3 separate regions of the Homo sapiens genome follow, and regions 2 and 3 are each linked to region 1. Evidence: promoter capture Hi-C in 16 types of primary human blood cells and fetal thymus (Javierre and others, 2016). All regions are on one chromosome and are shown on one strand. Each heading gives the region's core, a stretch centred on a gene start or on the middle of the fragment in contact. The rest is flanking DNA. Distances are from core to core; before and after follow the strand shown. Region 1 holds the start of PGAP1 (post-GPI attachment to proteins inositol deacylase 1). Region 2 has its middle 32 kb from the start of DNAH7. Region 3 holds the start of RFTN2 (raftlin family member 2).

Evidence for each region. The method cuts DNA at HindIII sites, captures the fragments that hold promoters and counts their contacts. A CHiCAGO score of 5 or more calls a contact.
Region 2: a fragment that was not itself captured here is called in contact with the fragment with the promoter of PGAP1 in region 1 in 1 of 17 cell types (neutrophils); the score reaches 6.2 in neutrophils.
Region 3: the fragment with the promoter of RFTN2 here is called in contact with the fragment with the promoter of PGAP1 in region 1 in 3 of 17 cell types (neutrophils, fetal thymus and M0 macrophages); the score reaches 7.9 in neutrophils.

Annotation. Positions count from the first base shown.
Region 1 is chr2:196,924,947-196,928,419 of GRCh38, forward strand. PGAP1 (post-GPI attachment to proteins inositol deacylase 1) reads right to left here and starts at 1,761. Exons shown (of 27, transcript NM_024989.4): 1 at 1,524-1,761. The coding sequence starts at 1,670. RefSeq lists a silencer at 1,710-1,959. The HindIII fragment of the contact is 4,012 bases long and covers 1-3,044 here.
Region 2 is chr2:196,098,695-196,102,167 of GRCh38, forward strand. No RefSeq gene overlaps it. Among named protein-coding and RNA genes, the nearest start is that of DNAH7, 32 kb to the left of the region's middle. RefSeq lists enhancers at 2,269-2,358, 2,379-2,528, 2,799-2,898. The HindIII fragment of the contact is 5,493 bases long and covers 1-3,473 here.
Region 3 is chr2:197,673,877-197,677,349 of GRCh38, forward strand. RFTN2 (raftlin family member 2) reads right to left here and starts at 1,711. Exons shown (of 9, transcript NM_144629.3): 1 at 1,444-1,711. The coding sequence starts at 1,582. The HindIII fragment of the contact is 18,558 bases long and covers 1-3,473 here.

The sequences.
Region 1 (3,473 bases), core at 511-3,010:
GCGGTACAAAACTAAAGTGACCTACTTCAATCTATTGGGAGTTTCCTAATTATTAAACCAAAAATAAGGAGGGAATTATAATAGCTCTATTTTCAGTTTTTTAAAATACTAAACTAAAAAGGTTTGCTTAGAAATGAACAGAGACGACAGTAACATGTCAAAATCTTCTCCTTCGATAGCATCCCTACCAAATGTTTCCACTCTCTTATCATCATAAATGCAAAACCAAGGTAAGGATCTAAACACAAATGAAATCTAAATTTACTAGAATTTTTCCCATGGGAAAGAATGCTCTTCAGCAATTTAAACCTTAAGTAGTCTTAAGATCAAAATAATAGCAGCGTAATCAAGTAACAGGCTTCCTCCATAATGACTTGTACAAAGAAGCAATCAGGACTTGCATCCTTCACCCTAAAAAAAAAACTGCTGTGATTTTAAGAGTATACTAAAAATGTATTTTATCAATATATGTTATAGTGCATATACATTTTATGGTAGGGAATTATTACAATAGGTAGTCCATAATTAAGAGATGCACTTAGAAATAAAAGAATCATTCGGAAAAATTCTCTTAGGACAGTTGTGTAATTTGTCTGCGCCTCTTTTTACAGCTAGTCATGAATGAAATTCTAGATCCTACTATGCCGAACTAACGAAGCCATTGATTGAAAACATTCAAAATGGCATGGAAGCGGTAGGGGTGGAGAGAGAAGGGTTGGCTCTCTCTTAAACTCCGAACCCAGCGAGAAAACAAAAATAGCACCATGAAATAGATTTTGTATGCAACTATTAAGAGGCTCGGCTGCTGAGAGACATGCATAAACACAGGTATGCACACACACAGGCAAGCCCACACACGCACGGCCCCTTAACCTGCAAAATAAGAGGATCTGCAACATCTTTCCAAGAGGGGATCTAGTTTCCAATTCAATGACTCGCCAGTTTACCCATAGGCAAAACCCTGGAGTCTCTAAAAACAGCCTTGGGAACTATCTAGCCAATATACACTCTGCAGACGCTCGGTCCCTTTCTAGAAATGCGAAATCTGACGAGCAGATCACCGGGCGCGAGGGGAATTTAGGCGCGTGGGAAGCAAAGGAAGGTCCTGGGGCACGGGTTAAGGCAAGAACGCGAGAGGGATGGAGCTTCGGTTTAGGGAGAAGGGTTGAGGCTGCCTCTCTGGGCATGAGGGGGGCTGGGCCCGGCCAGTCAGAAGAGCTTGTGCCCAGGATTTGGGGCTGGGGAGGAGGCGGAGGGACAGCGGAGTAACTACGAGGACGACCACGAGGATGCTCTCGGGAAATCGTCTAACAAACACCCCACCGTGAAGAAGGGACACAAAGGGGAGGTGAGGGGGGCAGAAGGGGGATGCAGAGTCTCCCCGGGCGGAGAAAACAGAGGCGAGGACGGGACAGGGGGCCCGAGAGGCGCAGAGAGCCAAGGCAGGACGAACCCACAGAAGGAAAAAGGCACCAGGGGCCAGAGTCTTGGAGCGCCCGGCTGAGGAGAGGGCAGAACCTTACCTGATACTCCGGGTACTCAAACATGTAGCTCATACTGCACTTATTCTCCTCGAAGCCGAAGAAGACATCCCACAGCCCCAGGGTTGCCAGAAAGACCATGAAGACATAAAACGCCAGGTTCCAGAGATTAACTGAGTGAAGAAACATGGTGCCGCCACCACCGCCGCCGCCGCCGCCGCCCCCTCTACCTCCTTCTCCGCCGCGGGGCCCCAAGCCCGGACTGAGCGTGCTAGACACTGTCCGACCGCCACCCCCGGAGCCGAGCCCCAGCCGCGCGCGCCTGCGCTGATGCCCGGCCTGCCCGTTCGCCAGCCGCGCAGTGCGCCTGCGCGCACCAGGTCCGCGGCGCCTCTGGCCTGGCGACTCCCAGAGCCGAGGGAGGAGTAGGTGTTGCAGCGCGAGCGCGGATCTACGGGAAAGAGAAAGAGGGAGAAAGCAGGGTGGGCTGGGCTGGAGGGTGAGGGGAAAGAAGGGAAGTGGGGAGAGAAAGACGCGAGGAGTGGCTGGCGGGAGGGAAAGAAGAGAGAGAGAGGAAGCATCCAGAGGGGGATGGGCGGAGCGCGGGAGCCCTGGAGACGAGCCGGGGGATTGGGCAGGAGGCGGGTGTCAGATGGGTGAATCTGGGGAGGGGACTAGAGCCCAGAGTCCAGAGGCGATTAAGGACCGAGAGCGGACCGAGAGAGGGGAGGAGGACTTAAAAGCCCAGGGGTCATCAGCTGTCACCTCGCAAACGCCTCTCCCTGCGGCAGTTTAAAAACGCTTCCCGTTCAATTTTGAAAAGACTCAGGCCTCCGCAATTTCGGTTTTCCCAACGGTAGTAGAGCACACTCACAGCTCTCTGGAGCAGTTAGCTTGAAGAGGGAACAAATGGCTTTATTTTCCCTCTTCTACCGCCTACTTGGGCCCAGTAGGTAACAGCGCTTAAAAGCACCGGCTCATTAAAAAAAAAAAAAAAAAAAAAAAAAAAAACACCCGCAAGCCGACGAGATTCTGCTCTTGGTATCAGATGAAAGCCTGAATCACAAAAAGCATCGTTAGTCCTTAAAATATGTTACCAAAATATCTATTAGCACTGACGTCCCCAACAGGTATCTGCGTAATCAGTTTGACGCTGACTCGCCTTGCTCTCCAGAACCTCCATCTCTTGGGGAATGGGTTCCACGTTAACTGGAGGAGGCAATTTCGTCCAGCTTCCATTCAAACTCGCAAATGACTTAATTCGTTTTGAAGAATTTCGGTTCTGTTTTGTACAAAGGAGGAGTTTTTAAAAAAAGCTCGAAATCAATCACTTGTAGCAGCTTCAAAACACTAGAATGTTAGGAAAAAGACATCACTCTTTAAAGCTGACTCAACAGTAGACGGTGTGTGTGTGCGTGTGTGTGTAGTAACCACAGGATTCTTAGAATGGTCTTTGGCACTAAATGAATTTCATTGAACTTGGGCTGATTTTCTGGTATATTTTCTGTGCAGAGGAAGTTTGGCTACAATACATAAAATCAAAGAATTTTAAAACCAAAAGGAAGCTTATAGTTTATCTTGTACAACACCCTGATGTTCAGATTACGAAACTATGAAGAAGAAGTGGAGTGATCCTGAAAATCAAGATAGTCTTTACCCTGCACAGAAACAGTTGCAAGTCTAAACAAACACAGCTAGCTACGGAATGTGGAGTATTGACGGAGAAAGACAGAAATGGGAAAATGCGGAAGCAGTCTCCTTTTTTGTAGGGAGATAAGTCTGGAAAGACCAGGATAACAGGGGAGCTGTAGGTGGTACTGATCAGGAGGGCAATTAAGTAATATGTCATTGAAGTAAGTCCTGTATGAGACGTGTCGTTTTTGTTTGTTTTGAGACTGAGTCTTGCTCTGTCGCCCAGGCTGGAGTGCAGTGGCGCGATATCGACTCACTGCAGCCTCCGCTTCCCGGGTTCAAGTGATCCTGGTGCCTCGG
Region 2 (3,473 bases), core at 375-2,874, 830 kb before region 1:
ATGCAGGTTCCCCAATAATTTGCAAACTATTCACCTATTGCAAATATTTCCATAAATAGCCCCCTCTTCTGCTCTTGTTCTCTCTAATTTATGACTGGAAAATCTCCTTGAAAACTCTTTCATTTACCAACTCCAAGCTAAGCCTCCTGCCCTCCTCTCTTCTGCCTTATACTGACCTGTGACCAGTGTCAGATGGGCCTCTTAGAGCAAACCTTTCTGCTCTTCCTTCACCCTCTCCACTGTCTTCACACACTGTCCATGTGGAATCTTTCTTTCTTAAAGGGCATAGATAATGACTGTGCCCCATGAACTGAAGTCATGGTTGGTGAGTTTTCAGCCTCCATTTTTTTCAGTTTTTCAATTGCTGTTGGCCAGGAGCCCCTTCCAAAAATCAACACATCATGCCTCTATTCTGGAATAAGCATCTTCCAGGTAACCCTCAAATGGATCATATTTTGAGAATTGCAGGCTCACTTCAGTTAGCACGGCATTAGCAAGCTATTCTCTTTCTATCTTCTTCAGAGGTGTTTATTCAGTGGCTCCTGTCTGTGAAGGGTGTCTTCAATCTGCAGTCTGAAGGAAAGAATCTCCACCAGCCATATTTTTGCCAATGCTTGTCCCATTGTTTCTTCCTTGCCACTCCTCCAAAACACACACATACATTCTATACCTCTACTAGCACCCACTATAATCACTGTTTCTACATTCACAGATGCAAAATGCCTTTATGTTCAGAGATGGTTAACATTTTCTTTTTGTCACAAAATCTGTAGGTTGCTTTTTGGATTTTTAGTAATAATCTTACATAGAATACACTTACATAGGACATGGTTCCTAGCCAAAGACATCCAAAAGGTTTGCTCAAAAACATGTCTTGTTGGGTCAGCCTTTATTAAATCCTCCCCAGGAGCCGATATTTTGGGAACAAAATATTACTGGTAAAGAGAAGCATGTGAAGTTTCCAAAAGCAAAAGTGTCTGTAACCAATGAACAGATAAAATTTCAAGGCCTATACAGTAAAGCAGCTGTTAGATGATTTACTGGAAAATTCCTCCAAAACATAATAGAGGCTGCCCACTACAAAGGAAATATTTTTCCTTCAAGTGCATAATATTCAAGTTCAATATGTTATGTACTCAAATTACCTCTCTATTAAAATCTGGGGTTTTCACGATAACCTCCACCATGGGGACTTGATTCTCATTCCATCCCAATGAAAAGCCAGGACAGCACTGGTTGGTGTGAGATTCATGAGGTGAGTTCCAAACTCCAGAGACTCATTCCTTTTGTGCAGCTTCCAGTATCAATAACACAGGATAGGACTTCATTTCCCAGGCATATAAGTGACTCACACTAAACTAGACAAATTCGATAACCTCTCACTTTCATTTAGAGAAATGATCATAAAGCTGCCAGTGGGGCACCATGTGATTTTCAAGGCGGGCAGCACAATTGCAAAACAATACTTGCAGGAATCATAGAGGAAGAGAACAATTGTTTCCAGCACCTCCCTTATCTCACTATATGGACAGACAGTGCATAGAGGGACATTCTCAGATGCCACAGCACTTGAGTGTTTTGGTAAAGTCCTGATGGAGACCAGGGAAAGCGGCAAGAGAGTGAGGTGTGCAGCACACAGCACAGTCACTGCTCCACAGCACCAGAGATCTGGAGGCACACGTGGAACCAAATGGGCCAAAAAAAAAAAAAAAAAAAAAAAAGGAATTCATAGTCCTCAGGCCAAGAATTCTCCATTTAACCTCATTCTTGACTCTGCCAACCCACGCGATCATTTATTAGGAGTTAACAGAAACCTTTAGGGAGAGATTTGTTAAGGGTTACAGAATCAGAGCAAGGGAGGAGGAATACGTTTCTAGTGTTCTATACCACTGTAGGACTACTACAGTTAACAATATGTAGTTTCAAATAGCTAGAAGGAAGGATATTGAATGTTCCCAACACAAAGAAATGATAAATGTTTGAGATAATGGATATGCTAATTACCCTGATCTAATCATCATACATTATATGTATCAAAACATCCTTACATACCCCATGAATATGTACAATTATTATGTGTAAATTAAGAAAGAAAGAAATCTCTTGGACTCCATGTAATGTATTTACGCACAGAACACATTCTGGCTCAAACTAGGAGGTGGAGGTCTCCAACTGTACAAAGGGCACTATTGCACTTACTAGGGGTAAGGATTAGAGCTTTCGATCTACACAGGAAAAGTAGAAATGGCAGTCAAGAGCCACAGTGATGCAAGCTGAAGTCAAACCAAGAGGTGTTCCCTGCCACTTGTCTCTTATTTTGAACATGCCAACTAATTGCAGCCCACCCATCCATCCTTCCTTGTGCCAGAGGTGAGGGCTAAGCCATTGCTGCAGAAGTCCTCTTCAGCAGATAGCTGTTTATCTGGTCCTTGATTAATGGTAAGGGGGCTGCTCCTAGCTTTGTTTGGATGTTCAGACAGCAAGAGAGGACACTTGGTTTCAATATGTATATCTATTTGATTCAACCTCCAGCTAAACAATCCTGTTTTCCCTAAGAAATGAACATGGAAATGGTCAAATGTCCACAGGAACATTGGTACAGGAGGAGTATGTTCAATAATCACAAGATATGAGTCAGATGTTCAGAGTGTGATTTTGATATGAACCTTTATTGTGGGAGAGGGAGGGAGGGTTGAGCTATCTGAGAATCAGTTCTGGCTCAGTCCCTTGAGCCTGCTTGGGTGCGAAGGTTTCAGTTCTGTGTCAGTGACTCAGCTCTACTCTGTTCAGGGAAGATAAATTAGGTGCCACGTGCTTTACTCTTAGTGAAATAGGTTATTTTGGGGGAAATATGTGGAAAGTTACTTTTTAAGAAATTCCAGTGAATATGAAGGGCTCCTATCTGAAAAGATGCACATTTGGCTTGTTGTGAGAATTTTTTCCTTCCTTATGAAAAACATCTTGTCTTCAAATTTGTCTGGAACTGTTTACTACATTGCCCTTTTGAGTTGCACCAATAAGAAGGGAGTCAAACACCATTTCCAATAATACTCTGCTCAGTCATAGTGACAGTATGCCCCTGCCTCCCACGCTGCCACACCAGTCCCAGCCGAGGAGCACCTGTGAAGTCTGTTCTGCATCACAGCAGTAAGCAGTCACAGGGCCTATTAGTTATGCACAGCAGGAGAGACCTTGGGGTCAGTGTTAGAGTTATGTTTTTCATACGCATGCAAGACAGCTTACATTCTGCACTCTGGTGGCGTGCAGATGTCCTGGAGAGTAAGGCTCCTTTGGTTCCCTCACTTTTCCTTTTGCTAATAGACCCCAGGCTTTGTTCAGGGATCAGGCAACAATATGCTCATGGTAGTTAGGCTCAGTCTCAGAGAGGAGTCATGGATCATCCATTCCCCTTTGCCTGTGAATGGCGTAGGGATCATGCCAAAAAAAGAAACACTGCTTAGGGGTTTGGAAAA
Region 3 (3,473 bases), core at 461-2,960, 750 kb after region 1:
TCTGACCTAAATTCATGAATACACAGTGTTTCAAGGTTAAGGAGAGTATGTGTCTGTCTCCTATGGATGTACAGAAACGAGTCCTAAAAAAAAATTGATGAGGAAAATCAATGGTGTGAACATAGCACCACATTACAAATATTTTCTCAAATGAAGGTTTTTGAAAAAGTATAGAAAAAATTCAAACGGTTGTTTGGTTACTTCTCTGATAATTGCTATTATCTTAATCCATTTTTAACATTCATAATTTAAAAGAAAATTAAGAAATTAAGAATATTAATTTTTTTCTTTTGGTAGCCTTAGCTTTAAACAAAAATAGGATATGAACATGTTAAAAGTCTATGTACAGATTTTGTGTATGTCCCTGGAAGGGAGTTTGTTTGCTGGCCAGCTTAATTTTTGACAAAGAAAAATGGGCTGCTCTTGCTTCTTGCACAAAGATGCACTGTTTCTAGAGCAAAGCAAAAAAAAAAAAAAAAAAAAAAAAGAAAAGAATGTGTGTAAACAAAAAATTTGGAAAAAAATTAAGATAATATTCAACATGATAATTTAGTATAAACTTTTTGTGAATTGATAAAATGTGTGGCTCATTAGAATTAAAAATATAACTATAATAAGAATTTTACTAATATCTGATAACTTTAACAGCAAGCAAAGCACTCTAAATTTCATTTTTACTACTTCATAATTAAAGATATAGCTTTTTTAAAAAGCTGCTTTGTCTGTGCAGTTGTACAGTACTCTAAAGTTTCCAAAAGAAATGAGGCAAAGTATTTGTGAAATCGAGCCACCTCGATTCCTTCCACAGAGCTGCCATCTGGGCTTGTTTATTTGTGTTTCCAACTTTCTGGAACAGAGAGTTTCTCTGTTAGGGACAGGGCACTGAGCAAAGGAAGTGTCTTACAGAAGGCTATCTTTTTTTTTTTTTTAACTACATTTTCAAAACTTATAGTTTAGTTTGGTCAAAAATATCAAATGACTACCATAATCACAGAGTCTAACACAATTGGAAGCCTCAGAATTGTCTTAGCAAACACTCTTCCACGATATGATGCAAGTAATATTTACTACATAATACCTTATTGTGATTTTCAAATCTTTTTCAAAATACAAACTGTCACTAAGGCTATATAGCTATTTGTCCTGGAAATCAAGCATTTTTCATAAATCCTTCTATAAATAAGTATTTGATTTAAAAATGAAAGAAGTATTTCCAAGCAATTTCCCTAATTTTAGAAGGTACATATGAGCCATGTTACCAAAATACGAAGCAATCAACAAAACAAAAATCTTACAAAGTATAATTAAGAAGCGAAGCATTATTGTTTGAATATACAATCTCATTATGAAGAACAGTTTAAAAATTTATTAAGTCAACACTTAAAAATGACTAGTAGTCTCATCTCTGAAACATTTAACAAACAAAATAGAAGCAAAAAGTACCTTGTAGAGTAAAATCCAGCAATACATATTCGTAAGCAAATTCTGTCTTTGTTTCCACTTGCGGTCTCTTCAGGGTAGAAAATATTTTTCCAGGGCTGCTATCATCAGGGTCTTCTAGCTTTCTAAGTCCGCACCCCATGGCAAAATCTGTAAGGAATTAAATTGCAGGAAAGGGGAGGGAGAGCAGCAAATTCTGTTGTTTAAGCTGCAAAAAGAAAGTTACAGACTTAACTGCTTTGATTTTGTTTTCAGCTAAACTATAGATAACCAAAAAAAAAAAAAAAAGCAAAAACCAAAAAAAAAAAAAAAACCCAAAAAAAACCATCTGGGTCCAAAGAAAGGAGTTGAAGAATTTTTCTATCCATTTTTCTGTAAAGTCATTGAACCCATGATTAAGCTACAGCTCCAGGAGGCTGGGCTTGATCTTAGAGAAACATGCAAGCTGCTACAACTTAGCGGAGAATTTCCATGCCACGTCAATTTACAGCCAGCCCCCTACCAGAGTTCTGTCGCTCAGGGCACCAGCGGTGCTTTGTCTATTCCAGTTGGCTGGATGATAAAAAGAGGTGTCCAAAAACGGAAATAAAAAGGCAAAAGGGCAACTTGGATGTAATTATCTACAAGTAGAAGATATATTCAGACATAGTGGCACACAATTCTTTTTCTGTTTTCCCTCTCCTCTCTGTCCTGCGCCTACCCTCCTTCCTCTCAACTACTACCAAGAAAGAAAAAGGAGAGAGAGAGAGAGAGGCAGTAGGGGGGTGGAGAGAGAGACAGAGAGAGAGAGGGAAAAAGAGAGAGAGAGAGTGAAAGAGAGAGAGAGAAAGAAAGAAAGAGAAAAATGAAAAGAGTGGATTCTCAACATATTTAGAAACAAAAATCATTTCCAGAAAGGAAGTCAGCTTTATGAGGAAACTATTTCTGGAGTCTAAAAGGAGGAAAGTAAAGTTTAAAAAAACAGCCCTTTAAGTCTTTAGTTAGTACTTTTGAGGATTTCTTTCCATATGAAGTTTCTTTCTGTTGGAAAAAATCATATGCTAATTAAAACAGCAAAGTATAAAAAATTTATATTAAAATATTTTTATAAAAAAGACTTTACTTAATTGCAAAGGAGAGACAGTTATGTGTGTAATTAGTTTCCCCAACATCCTTAAATAGTTTAAAACACTCTACTATTAGAAGGCTTATGATAGCAACTAATACTTCTATAGGTCTCAAAGTATCCTTAATTAAAAAATAAAACAAAACTGACAACTTGATTCATTTAATTTTTTTTTTTTTGAGATGTGGTCTTGCCTGTCACCTAGGCTAGAGTGCAGTGGCAAAATCATGGTTCACTTCAGCCTCGACCTCCCGGGCTCAAGCCATCTTCCCACCTCAGCTTCCCAAGTAGCTGAGACCACAGGCTTCAATGTGATTGAAAAAATTTTTCAGGCTTGTATTCTCTAGAATCTCAACTGTGATAAGGGTTTATTTTGTAAATAATGGAAGCAGTGGCAGAATCACATGCAACCACATCTGGCTCATTTTTGTATTTTTTTGTGGAGATAGGGTCTCACTATGTCACCCAGGCTGGTTTTGAAATCCTCAGCTAAAGTGATCCTTCTGGATCGGCTTCCCAAAGTACTGGGATTACAGGTGTGAGTCACTGCACCAGGGCCATTCAGTCTTATAAACTGCCATTTACCGGAGGTCAAGAATAATTTATAATGGACCAATTGTAATGAACGTTTATTGTATTTTACCCTTTACAGGTCAGGAAGTATGGTGCGCTCATCAAAACTGTGAGCCCTGGAATCAGGCTGCCTGGGTTCAAATCCTGCTTCTTAGGCCTACTAGAGATGTAATCTTGGGCAAGTTACTTGACCTCTTCAAGTTTCAACTTCCTCCCCTGTAAATGGTACTTACTACATAGGCTTGTTATGAAGGCTGAATGAGATAATCTTATCTCATATGTTAACACTAGGCCTGGCTAATAGCACAAAATACATTTGTTGATGCGTGTACGTTATAAAACAGGTTGGGAGTAG